Regions from separate parts of the Homo sapiens genome. Here all the other regions are linked to region 1. The links are contacts of gene promoters, found by promoter capture Hi-C in blood cells and fetal thymus (Javierre and others, 2016). All regions are on one chromosome and are shown on one strand. Each heading gives the region's core, a stretch centred on a gene start or on the middle of the fragment in contact. The rest is flanking DNA. Distances are from core to core; before and after follow the strand shown.

What was found. Contacts are between HindIII fragments. The CHiCAGO score rates a contact against its expected background, and 5 or more counts as called.
Region 2: a contact is called between a fragment that was not itself captured here and the fragment with the promoter of COG1 in region 1, in 2 of 17 cell types (M1 macrophages and fetal thymus). The highest score is 5.7, in M1 macrophages.
Region 3: a fragment that was not itself captured here is called in contact with the fragment with the promoter of COG1 in region 1 in 2 of 17 cell types (total CD8 T cells and naive CD4 T cells); the score reaches 6.4 in total CD8 T cells.
Region 4: a fragment that was not itself captured here is called in contact with the fragment with the promoter of COG1 in region 1 in 1 of 17 cell types (neutrophils); the score reaches 5.7 in neutrophils.

Annotation. Positions count from the first base shown.
Region 1 is chr17:73,191,336-73,194,462 of GRCh38, reverse strand. It overlaps COG1 (component of oligomeric golgi complex 1), which reads right to left and starts at 1,408. Exons shown (of 14, transcript NM_018714.3): 1 at 1,079-1,408. The coding sequence starts at 1,393. RefSeq lists a silencer at 917-1,126 and enhancers at 1,177-1,456, 2,087-2,136, 1,422-2,181. The HindIII fragment of the contact is 5,644 bases long and covers 1-2,695 here.
Region 2 is chr17:72,614,778-72,617,904 of GRCh38, reverse strand. All of the region lies in intron 3 of LINC00511 (long intergenic non-protein coding RNA 511), which reads left to right. Among named protein-coding and RNA genes, the nearest start is that of LINC00673, 24 kb to the right of the region's middle. The HindIII fragment of the contact is 4,164 bases long and covers 1-3,127 here.
Region 3 is chr17:73,717,576-73,720,702 of GRCh38, reverse strand. No RefSeq gene overlaps it. Among named protein-coding and RNA genes, the nearest start is that of LINC02092, 68 kb to the left of the region's middle. The HindIII fragment of the contact is 6,543 bases long and covers 1-3,127 here.
Region 4 is chr17:72,672,982-72,676,108 of GRCh38, reverse strand. The region is part of intron 7 of SLC39A11 (solute carrier family 39 member 11); the gene reads left to right. Among named protein-coding and RNA genes, the nearest start is that of LINC00511, 34 kb to the right of the region's middle. The HindIII fragment of the contact is 6,689 bases long and covers 1-3,127 here.

The sequences.
Region 1 (3,127 bases), core at 159-2,658:
ATTCTTTTTTTTTTTTTTTTTGAGACAGAGTCTCGCTCTGTGGCCCAGGCTGGAGTGCAGTGGCGCGATCTCGGCTCACTGCAAGCTCCGCCTCCCGGGTTCATGCCATTCTCCTGCCTCAGCCTCCCAGGTAGCTGGGACTACAGGCGCCGGCCACCACGCCTGGCTAATTTTGTGTATTTTTAGTAGAGACGGGGTTTCACCGTGTTAGCCAGGATGGTCTGGATCTCCTGACCTCGTGATCCACCCGCCTCGGCCTCCCAAAGTGCTGGGATTACAGGCGTGAGCCACCGCACCCGGCCAATAAAAATTCTTTAGGAACGCAAGCTGCAGCTCCAATATGAGGATGTGTTTGTTTACCTCCCATCCTTCCTCATTGTGTCTAATCAATAGCGTTTGGGGGGAAGAACACGGGATAAGGAGAACCTGAATGAAAAAAGCCTTAGTTCTGAAAATGAAAATGTTCAGCTATTAAAAGGTAAGGGCTTGGCCGGCTGTGGTGGCTCATGACTGTAATCCCAGCACTTTGGGAGACCCTGTCACATACATACATAAAGTTAAGGGCTTGATAGCTGGTACCCTCAACAACTCCCAAAGGGTAGAACAGCTATTTGGGGTTGTGGAAGTTATTCTTGGGGAGATAAGGGGAAGGTTGGGATGAGGAAGAAATGACTTGGAGTGCAGGTGTCAACATAGGGGAGAAACCTGAGGAAAAACAATGTCAGGACATGTTATATAGGTGAGCGTTGAACTGTCAAGACAGAAACTCCTGGCGTTTTCCGCTAAAATTGAAAGGAGCCCAGTGAGGTGTAGGAATCAAGGCCCGGAAGTCGGGGGAAAGCGCCTGAAGAAACTGTTGAATGGCATTTCCAGAACGGATCAGCAGCCGCATATGTGCAAGGAAGGCTGGCACTGTCCTCTGAGGGGGGCCCAAAGGGTGAGGGGCGGATAGGCTCCTGGCTAAGGAAGGTGAGGACTCGCGGGGTCTGGGACTGACAGAGGGGGGCGGGGTTGACCTGCAAGGCCAGGGGCTCCGGGACCCGCCTGCGGGTCGCAGGGTGGGGGCACGGGGACTGACCTGCTGGGCCCGCGGTGGCCGGGGCGCGGCCGAGCCGGCCTGGCGGAGGCGGGCGCAGTACTGGTCGGTGGCCTTCACGGCGTCCACTAGCCCCACGGCGCAGCGGCGCATCTGGCCGATGGTGTCGGCCGCCTCGATCAGGTCGCGGTACCGTTCGCCCACCATCTGCCGCAGCTCCTCCTTCTTGTGCTCGATCTCGGCCCGAACCTGGCGCTCCAGCCCGCGGATCTCCTCCGCTCCATGCGTCTCGAAAAGAGCCGCAGGGTCGCGCAGATCCAGCCGCTTCAGCGCGGGTGAGGTTGCCGCGGTGGCCATGGTGCACTCGTCAGCCCCCGGCGATCTACCTACGCCCTTTTAGTCCCGCCCCCTCCGCCATCTTCGTTGGGGGCGGAAGCGCTTCCGCCCCGCCGGGGGCCATGTTTGTTACCCGAGGGGGCGGGCGCGAGGGGGCGGGCGCGAGGGGGCGGGCGCGAGGGGGCGGGCGCGAGGGGGCGGGCGCGAGGGGGCGGGCGCGAGGGGGCGGGCGCGAGGGGGCGGGGGCGGGCGCGGGCGCGGGGGCGGGCGCGGTCCTGCGCGGGGTTTTCTTAAACGGAGCCGGCTGGGAAGTGAGGTCGCCAGAGAGGTGAGGTCGCCAGGTTGGCTGCGAAACTGTGGCTGAAGTCTTCCCTTTCCCTTAGGAGCAGAGCTTCTCTGTGGAGTTAGGTGTCGGGATCGGGCCCCGCGGACTGACGGCGTTGGCGCAGGCGCAGCCGCCGCTCTCCGCGCGCCTGGCGCCCGCGAGCAGACTCGGGCGCGCTCGCCGCCGCTGGGTCTCGGATCGCACCCCGCGTGCAGTTTTAGGAAGAGGGACATCCGCGCCCCTCGCTGTTCCCCGGGAAGAGCTACCACGCCGCCCCTGAAGGGGTTCTGAGCGCTTGTTTGGCGTCTGCTTTTCCTCTGCTGTTGATTCGTGTTGGAGGTTTTCCATTTCGTTTAAAACCGATGTTTAGCCCCTGAAGACGTTTTCCCTGCGAGAGCCTGACCTTGGTGGCCATGGGGGAGGAGGGCGGCGGGCTGGGCGGGAGAGGCTGGGACGCCCCGGGGAACGCAGCGCCAGACGGGTGGGCGCTCCTCACGTGGCCCAGGAATAGTAGAATCTGGAGATTGTGGCTTGTTTCTGCTAAGTCCCAGACCCTTCTTTTTTTTTTTTTCTGTTTTAATTTCTTTTGGAAGATTTCACCCACACCAGTGTCGACAAAATGATGCAATGTGCGCAGCGGCCATGCTGAGCCCCCAGCAACTCAGGGCCTACCCTGCATCCCTGCTCATTCCCTCTCCCACCCGCCACCTCCGGACGCACAGAATTTCAATCTGCAAATAAATGGTGCATTTATAATATTCCAGTTTAACCCGCAAGAGCCTTGCGGCGTAGGGAGTATCATTCTCACTTTACAGACTCATTTTACAGATGGGGAAACGGGGGCCCGGAGAGGCAAAGGGTTTTTTACTCAGTAAAAGTGCAGTTTTCAGAGCCTGTCCACGAGATTATCTCATTTTCTCGCACATCGGCCATGCCAGGTAGGTAGGAGTAATATTCCTAGTCCATTTATGAGGAAAAAAAAAAAAGAAACAAAAGCTTATTTACCTGCCCAAATTACATAGCTGATAGGTGACCCAGTGAGTATTTGGACGTCGATTTTTAAATTACTGGCTCGCGCTCTTTTCTACGTTTTCACATAATTTCCCACAGAGCACCCTCTGTTGGCAGGCCTGCAGTTTGCAGTCTCTAATCCCATTCTGCAAGGGACACTTACTGGTATTCGGCTGATAAGCATCCGCAGTATCTCCTTTCTGTGATTGGGGAATTCATCGCTATCTAGCAAAATCTTTTTTTCTGGCGCCCTTTATAGCTACGGTGCCAGCCTGCGGCCTGGGACTGGCACAGCAGGCACAAGCGCCTAGGACTTGGGTGAAGAGTTAGTGACATTAAGAAGCAGGCTGTAATCCCAGCACTTTGGGAGCCCAAGGCGTGTGGATCCCTTGAGCCCAGGAGTTCAAGACCAGCCTGGG
Region 2 (3,127 bases), core at 247-2,746, 580 kb after region 1:
TTCCTTCCTGGCTGGGCTACATGAACCGGGGACAGCTGGAGTGTTGAGTTTTGACATTCCCAAAGACAAGCAGCTAAAGTCAAGAGGACTGTGTCACACAGAGATGGTGATCAGGGGAATGGAGTCCCTCGGAGGCAGGGAAGGAGGCAGGCAGCCTTAGGTTAGACTCCAGGAAGAACTGTCTCCTGAAGCAGTGATAATTGGAACAGGCAACATCTGTGTGCTTGCTCTGTGCCCAGTGCTAGGTGCTTTCCATGAATTCACTAATTCCTGAAACCCACAGGTAGGTCCTTTTATTGCCCCTCTACAGAGACGAGAAAAACTGGGTCTTGCTGAAATTAAACATCTTGCCCAAGGTAACGTAGCTCCGAAGTAGCAGAGACAGGAATTGAAATTGCAGAGCTTCCTCTCGAAGCCTCTAGATGCTAGCCTACGTCTTCAAAGATGCCCATCAATCAGAGATGTAGGACAGTCTTATCTCTGGAATCTTCCTTGGTCTTCTTGTTCTGGCATTGATCAGCTGGTGTGTCATACACACACACACAGGCACACACGTACACACACACATTATATATATGCATACATGCCATGCATACACATCACATACAGGTACAAGCACACGCATATGCACAAACATTGCACATCACACACATCTACACACACATTACATACATGCACATGCACATCACATACACGCACACACTACAGATATAATCCCTCCCCAACTCCTCCACAGCCCCCCACCACAAACCTTTAAGGTACTGACATGACTGTAACAGAGTCATTGACCCTCAGTGGATTCTCCACCCCTGGACAACTGTGGAAAGACCAGTGGCATTCCTGGGAGTACTTTGACGGTTGTACAGGGCCCAGCAACTCTTGGCTGCCACAGCCCCCTGAAAAACAATGGCCTTGAAGTTGTCCACCCTCACTGCGCTGGGCTACACTCATTGGGTCATGCTTCATTTTTGCAGAAGGCCCTTCTGTGAGTACTTTAAATTCCTGAAAAAGCTCATTACATTTTGCCATGGTCCTGAGATGGTGACTGGGGACTGTCCCTGCTCTCATTGACTTGACTGAATTGAGGTCCAGATTAAGCCATAAAACAAAACCCAAAATGCAACCTCCCAAGCCCCCAACATGCCAAGACTGGCAGAAATTCTGAGACCAGGTAAAAGATGCTGCGCCCCCTCAAGTCTGTTCAATGATCAGGCGGGGACTAGGGAATGCTGGTTTGACTGGTGGGCTCCTCCCCTGCCTTCTCTGTTGGGGGTCGTGTTTGCTTTGTGTTCTTGGCCACAGGGTTAGCAGGAAGGAGATCACCAATGCATCGTTGCATGTGCTGTTCTTTGATTTTTCTCCATTCTTCACCCTGGAAGAAGGAGTGAATTTATGGACCTGTTATGGACTGACAGATGCCCTCTGCAGAATTAGAGGCAGCCTGGGATGGAGGTTGGGTTCTGAGACTTACATCTTGAGCAGGATTTCTCAGTCTCAGCACTGTGACATTTGAGGCTGGATCATTCTTTATTATTATTATTATTTTGAGACAGAGTCTTGCTCTGTTTCCCAGGCTGGAGTGCAATGGCTGGATCATGGCTCACTGCGACCTCCACCTCCTGGGTTCAAGCGATTCTCCTGTCTCCACCTCCCGAGTACCCGGGATTACAGGCGCCTGGCACCACACCCGGCTAATTTTGTAATTTTAGTAGAGATGGGGTTTCACCATGTTGATCAGGCGGGTCTTGAACTCCTGACTTCAGGTGATCCAGGTGATCCACCCATCTCGGCCTCCCAAAGTGCTGGGATTACAGGCATGAGCCACCACACCCGGCCTGGATCATTCTTTATTACAGGGTTTTGTCCTGTGCCTTGTAGCGTGGTGAGTAGCATCCTGGCCTCTACCAACTAAATGCCAGTACCACCCTGGCTTCCCAGTTGTGACCATGAAAAACCTCTCCAGACGTTGCCCAGTGTCTCCAGAGTAGGGGGAGGGGCAAAAGTGTGTGGGTTGAGGAGCACTCATAGAGACGACTTCAAAGTTTTGGAGCACGACTGACTTCCTGCCAACAGTCACTCTGCCCCTCAGTCCCTTTGCTTCTCTCTCCATCCTTGCCCTTCCCATCTGTTCAATGGGCACTTCGATGGCCATGAACTAAACCATTTACTCTGTGAGTCAGGAGGAAAGCAAAACCCCAGCCACATCTCACGCTGGAGAAACAGGACTTTCTTTCCTTTCCCCTCAAAGTTCTAGTTTTCCGCAAGGTCCCCAGATGGCCAGCTGAGAGCCTCTCGTCCACTCTGCAGGCGGGGACAAGCAAGCAACACAAACACCCTCTGTCCTTCCTCCAAAGGGAGAAAAGAGTTTTCCTCCCTCCCTCCATCCTTCCCCTCCCCTTTCAGAAACTCTTGGGTTGTGTTCACCGCCACCCCCGCCCCCGCAACCCGGCCCCACTCAGTCCGCTTACACTGCCGACCCCTCCCCAGCCATTCCCCGTTCACTTCCCTCCCCTTCCCCTGGTACACCTGACTTATTTATTTATTTATGGCTGGAGTATTTGAGCTCAGGGTTAGTTCGAGTCTATTAAGTTTGCTCCTTTTCCTGCCTGGGAACCCGGGTAATGAGTAACCATAGCGTGCTTTGGGCAGCTGTCTCCGACAAACCGAGAGACGCCGTGGGAGCCGCATAAGGGAGCGTTTGTTCTGTGCCTTCTCAATAGTTCCTTGTGCAGGAGGCAGGGTGATGGGAGGGAGGGAGGGAGAAGGGAAGAAAGAGACAGACACTAAATCACTGCACTTTTGACAATTCCTCTCTTCTCTCCCACCACCCATCCTCCCCCACCTACACCGATCAGATCTTTGTGGTGGACTTAAGACTTTAAGACTTTTGTTGCTGTTTCCATGAGCCTGGGGAGAGGCTCCTGTGTACCTCGTGGGGGTACTTTTGGGTGAGTTGCAGACTATATGGGGCCTGAGGGCTGATTTTTAACATGGGGATGGTTTAGGTGTCCTGGATCTCTCCCACTGTGTGTGTAAATTAACACAATGCCTATTGTTCCCTAGTTCATTTAATGATCCAATAAATCTCTAGGTATCTATTCCCAACCTTGTGGCCTAGATATGCTAT
Region 3 (3,127 bases), core at 206-2,705, 530 kb before region 1:
CAAGCCAGCACCCACGCTGGCAGCTGGAGCTTAGTCCTCCGGGGTCCTCTGGTGACCTGTAGAACAGATGCCTCCAAGTCCTCCCTGCTGAGGGCAAGGTAGCTGGGGTATTTATACACCCAATCCCCTCAGCCACCAGCTGAGTAGGCTGCTCTGGGGGAGGGTATTCATTTCCCCTCTTCTGACAAAGCAAACTTTTACAGCTTTAGAAAAAGCCCTCAGGCAAAGAGATGCAGACACTGGCAGGTGGAGTCAACAGGAGACCATGGAAGCCACCAGGCCCCGTCTAGCGCAAGCCACAGCACATTCTAGCTCAGAGCCCAAGGTTACCTTCCTGTCCTGTGCACAGGAGACAGGAGATTCAGCACCAGCGCTGGGCCTCAAGGCCTGCAGTGGCTGTTGTCTCGGGGCCCAGGGCTGGTGTCAGCCATACCAGCAGGTGGCTACGGCGGGTGACAGCCACATCGCTGCCTTCTTCCTCCTTGTGTGCCCTGTTCTATCCTAGAAGGTGGAAGCCTCAGGACACACTTACAGGAGCCTCTTTGCTCGGTCCCAATGCCTCTACCCTTTCCTGCTGCCACCTGGACCACAGAAGGCACAGCCAGGCCTGGGGCAATAATATGCTCCTAGAAACATCTTGGAAGTCCTTAAATCCATGACCAAAACACAAGTGCCCTACGGCTGGAGACAATCAAGAGTGATTACAAAAGGGCCACTGTGTCCTTTTCTTTCTGGCAGCAGCTGTTCCTGTCATGTGGTCTGAAGAAGTCCAGATGTGTTTGTGCAGGGTGCGGAGCCAGGCCCTCCCAGGAGCAGGGATGAAAGAGCGGCGGCCGGAGCAGCTGGTACACAAAAGAGGCTGGTGCAAACCAGACCCGGGGCGGGAGGCCTCGCAAGCCGCTGAGTGGGCTGGGATGTTTCTATGGACAAGGAGCCGGCGCCGCGCACAGCACGGCAAAGAGGCAGCAGCATCCACAGGCCTGGGGGCCCAGGGCTGGTGCTGAATTGCCTGACTCCCACGCCCAGGGTGGGAAGGTCACCTTGGGCTCTGAGTGGCAGTGTGCTGTGGTTTGCACTAGGCGGGGAACCCTGCAAGGACAGGCATTTTCTCCCAGCAGCAACTGGCCTTGAGCAAAAAGGCTTGTGCAAAAAGCCTGGCTGCTGCATTTGCAGCACAGAGGTCAGTGCAAATGGTGCATCAGCCGAGGAAGAAAGGCCGACGCAGGGGTCACAAAAAGACAGGGCACATCACAGCACCGGTCAGGAACTGTGAGGCGGGGGAGGCGGGGGGGGCACGTGAGAGTCCCCTGGGACAACCGTCAAGTGCTACAGTTATGGGACAGAAGTGGCTTCCCCCAAACCTGTTTCTCTCCCAGGCTCCTCTGCCTCAGTAAACAGCAACTCACTCCCCAGTTCTCAAGCTGGAAACCCTCGAATCATCCTCCACTCCTCTCTGTCTCCCACACCCCTCGCTCTAAAAGCTCTACTTTCAAAATGCATCTACAGTCCAGTCACCTCCAGCCACTTCCTCTGTTGCCACCACAGTCCAAGCTGCCGTCGTCTCTGCCTGTGTATAAACATGGACTTGCCCTCCGTCCTCTCTCAGCTGTTCTCTGACTGAAGTCTCTTCCTTGCACTCCTCTGCACTTGACCCTATGCACTTGACCTATGCACGTGCGCCTTCGACGATGATCTCTTTCTCTTTCTCCCCAGTGGAATATGGACTTTGCCTCTTTGGCTCTTCTGCTTGCCCAGTGCTTTGAACAGTGCCTGGCACAAGGTGAGTATTTGTTGAATTCATTCCAGCTGAAGACTCCAGACCCCGCAGGTGTCACTCTGCTATAGGTTTGTCTTGTCCCCTTGCTCAAGGGTCCTGAAGCAACTCCTAATATTTACCCCACAGGGGGAATGAGAAAGAAGCAGTCTTATCCTAGAATGCTGGAAGAAATACTCAACAATGATAAGCAATATGGGGGTAGGAACACTGGCACTGCACCATCTCTGTCTAATCCTCAGGGGGTCTAGCCTACACCATTGTACTATCTCTGTCTAATCCTCAGGGGGTCTAGCCTGTGCCACTGCACTATCTCTGTCTAATCCTCAGGTGGTCTAGCCTATGCCACTGTACTAGCTCTGTCTAATCCTCAGGTGGTCTAGCCTATGCCACTGCACTATCTCTGTCTAATCCTCAGGTGGTCTAGCTTGTGCCACTGCACTATCTCTGTCTAATCCTCTGGGGGTCTAGCCTAGTGCAGCTACTCCAGACACTTGCTGAGATGAATTGAGTGAACAGCCTCCCTTCCTGGTAGCCCAGGCTGGCTTCTCCCTCCTGCCTAGGGGTTTATCCTCTGTGTTCTCTTAGCTCCCTGAACGTTTTTCTAAATTAATGCATGTGACACGGTCTTAAGTATGACTCCTCTGACGCTAGCAGTGAGACTTTATTCTTGGTATCCCTGAGTCCGCCTGGTATTACTAAGTCCGTATTCTGACACATGACAGCTGCTCAATAATGTCAAATGGTGAATGAATGAATGAGTGAGTGAGTGAAAAAGTAAAAGCAAGATGGTGAACCCTAAACCAAAGTTAGCTGAAACCTCCTATAACCAGCAGGGACAACTACCACCCAAAGATGGTAGGATTAGATGATCCATCGGAAAGACAATCCCTGCCCAGGCTAATGGGAGAGGCAGATGCCCACATAAGAGATGCATGTGGATACGTCCAACAGCCACATCACAACACATGCATAGCTGTAGGCAGCAGCTCAGAACCAGCAGGTGACAGGCAGGCCAGAGCCATCCAGTAAGGCTCCCTGAGCCCTGGCAGGTCCAATCCAGGCAGAGCCCTAACTCTGTTCAATTGCAATCTGTGTTTATGGGCCCATAATCAAATGGAAACTGAAAGTTTCTCATGAGAATCATCTGTCAAAATTGCGTGGTGTCCAGGCCCAGCGCTGGGAGGCTGGGTTGTAAATTCTAAGCTCCGCTCCAGCTCTGCTCCATCTCTAGGGACATATGGGTCATTTTTCAACCCAGCCTCAATCCGAGGAACTCGATCTTCGATCAAACACTATGTCTAACAGGCTGGGTATTTGGGATACTGAATGTCCCCTGTGGGATCGGTGGGG
Region 4 (3,127 bases), core at 229-2,728, 520 kb after region 1:
AGCAAGTGTGTGTGTGTGTGTGTGTGTGTGTGTGTGTGAAACATTGTGAGTTGAAGGAGAGTGACAAGGGCTTGTAACCCACCTTTAGGACTTTGGCTGGGCAGGATCCTCAAGTAAATTGGGATATCTGGGCCGGGCACAGTGGCTCACACCTGTCATCCCAGCACTTTGGGAGGCCAAGGCAGGTGGATTACCTGAGCTTAGGAGTTTGAGACCAGCCTGACCAACATGGTGAAACCCCATCTCTACTAAAAATACAAAATTAGCCAGGCATGGTGGTACGTGCTTGTAATCCTAGCTAGGAGGCTGACGCAGGAGAATCACTTGAACCCAGGAGGCGGAGGTTGCGGTGAGCCGAGATTGCGCCATTGCACTCCAGCCTGGGCAACAAGAGTGAAACACCATCTTACACACACAATTGGGACATCTGGCGCCGGGCATCACACACTGGCAGCACTCACAGAGCAACGACTAGAGACCCAAGTTCTCAGCCAGTTTGCTGGGACTCCCAGGGCTGTGCTCAGCCTGTTGGCAGCTAAGGTCTTCCAAGAGTGTCTTGTCATAGAGAAGCCACGAAGGCAAAGGAAGGGGAGGTTGGGAGATTATGTTGACTGTTGCTACATGTCTTAGTCCATTTGGGCTACCAAAACAAAATGCCGTAAACTGTGTAGATTACACACAACAGAAATTTATTTCTGACAGTTCTGGAGACTGGGAAGTCCAAGAACAAGGTCCCAGCAGATTCAGTGCCCGTGAGGACCCACTTGCTGGTTCGTAGATGGTGTTTCCCTGCTGTGTAGCCTCACATAGTGGAAGAACTAGCTAGCTCACTGGGGTTTCTTTTATACAGGCACTGATCTCATCCATGAAGGTGGATCCCTCATGACCTAGTGACCTCCCAAAGGCCCCAGCTCCTAATACCATCACAATCGTGATTAGGTTTCACAATATGAAATTTGGGGGCACACACACATTAGACCATAGCGCTATGGAAGGGAACATAGTAGCCTGTTGACAACTAGCTCTTTGTGTATGGAAGCGGGGGGCAGTTGTTCTCTCAGATAGATGGATAAACTTTCTCTCTCTCTTTCTGTCTCTGTGTCTCACACACACACACACACATACGCACACACACTTTTTTTTCCAATGAACGACTTGACACTTCAGGATCCTTCTCATCTATGTATATTTCAGTGGCATCTTTTAAGAATAAGGACATTTTGATAGAAAAATTGGGGGAAAGATGTGACCAGATAATTCACCAAAACACGTTTTAAAAATCATCCTCAAGCAGATGAGAAAAACGCTGAAACTCACCTCCTCATTATAAACATGCTAGTTGTAACAACACTAGGACACCATTTCTGACCTATCAGTGGGGAAAATGTAAAACTGTGAAATTATACTCTGTGATGAGGATATGGAGAAATGGCTCTCTCATACCTTGCTGGTGGGCATGCAAATTGGTACAACCCTTCTGGAGAGAAATTTGGCAATATCTAATAAAAGTACATACGCATTTCCTTTTTGATCCAGGAAACCCACTCCTAAGAATCTACCCTAAAGATACACCTCCAAGAATATGAAACTACGTAGACACACAAGGTAATCCATTACAACATTGTAATTGCAAAATATTGGAGGCAACCTAAATGCCCATATGTGGGAGAGTGGATGAGTAAGCTATAGTGTAGCCACACCATGGATTAGTATATAGCCATCAAAAAGAGTGGGAAGATCTCTGTGAACTCATTTAGAGGAGTTTTCAGGATATACTGTTAAATGAAAAAAGCTAAATACAAATGAGTATCTGTAGTATACTGTCACTGATGTAAAAAGGAAGGAGATATAAGAAAATACACATATATCCACTTACTTGTGCAGAAGATACTTGGAAGGATAAAACAGGACCAAAGAAGACAGATTACCTAGAGAGGGTATGTGGCAAGGGAGGGAAGGAGGGAGTAGGGGTGGGGAACAAGGGTGAGGAGGAAGTGACAGTTGTCTATACAAGTCTACCTTTATTTATTTATTTTTTTTAAAGACAGAGTCTCACTTCATTGCCCAGGCTGGATTGCAGTGGCACGATCTCAGCTCACTGCAGCCTCCTTCTCCCAGGTTCAAGCAATTCTCCTGCCTCAGCCTCCCAAGTAGCTGGGATTACAGGCCCATGCTACCACGCCTGGCTAATTTTTGTATTTTTAGTAGAGACAGTATTTTACTATGTTGGCCAGGCTCATCTTGAACTCCTTCCTGACCTCAAGTGATCCGCCCACCTCAGCCTCCCAAAGTGCTGGATTACAGGTGTGAGCCACTGTGCCCGGCCAAGTTTCCCTTCTTGAATAACTCCGACTGTTTCTTACAGAAGTGTTTCACATTGCCCCAAATCAATAAATAATTAAACCAAAATATGGGGGAGCCCAAATGGAATACAAGCAGTAACAAATGAAACTAAGTTGTATTACAAATGAATTACATAACCACACCAATCTCTTTGGAAAACAGTCTTTTGAACAGATACTACAAGGCTAAAGGCAAAAAGAAAAAAAAAACTGTGCAAACATTGTTCTCTGGATGGTAAATCTTTTTCTCACAGGAATTCTATTACCACCTGATGTGCAAACTATGATTAAATAAATAAGATACATTGTAGATACAAGAATCTCATCCTCAGTGTTGGCAAAAGAAGATACAAATAGAGAAAGAGGCCGGGCACGGTGGCTCACACTTGTAATCCCAGCACTTTGGGAGGCCGAGGTGGGCAGATCACTAGGTCAGGAGTTGGAGACCAGCCTGGCCAACATGGTGAAACCCCGTCTCTACTAAAAATACAAAAACTAGCCAGGTGTGGTGGCACACACCTGTAATCCCAGCTACTCAGGAGGCTGAGGCAGAACTGCTGGAACCCAGGAGCTGGAGGTTGCAGTGAGCTGAGATCATGCCATTGCTCTCCAGCCTGGGTGACAGAGTAAGACAAGACTCTGTCTCAAAAACCACAACAACAACAACAAAAAGAGAGAAAGAAGGAATCCTAGAACAGGGGCCCATAAACTGTTTCTTTTAAGGGCCGGGTATCTTCAGCTTTGTGGGCCATAAAGTCTTTTTCTCAACTATTCAACTGTGCCTT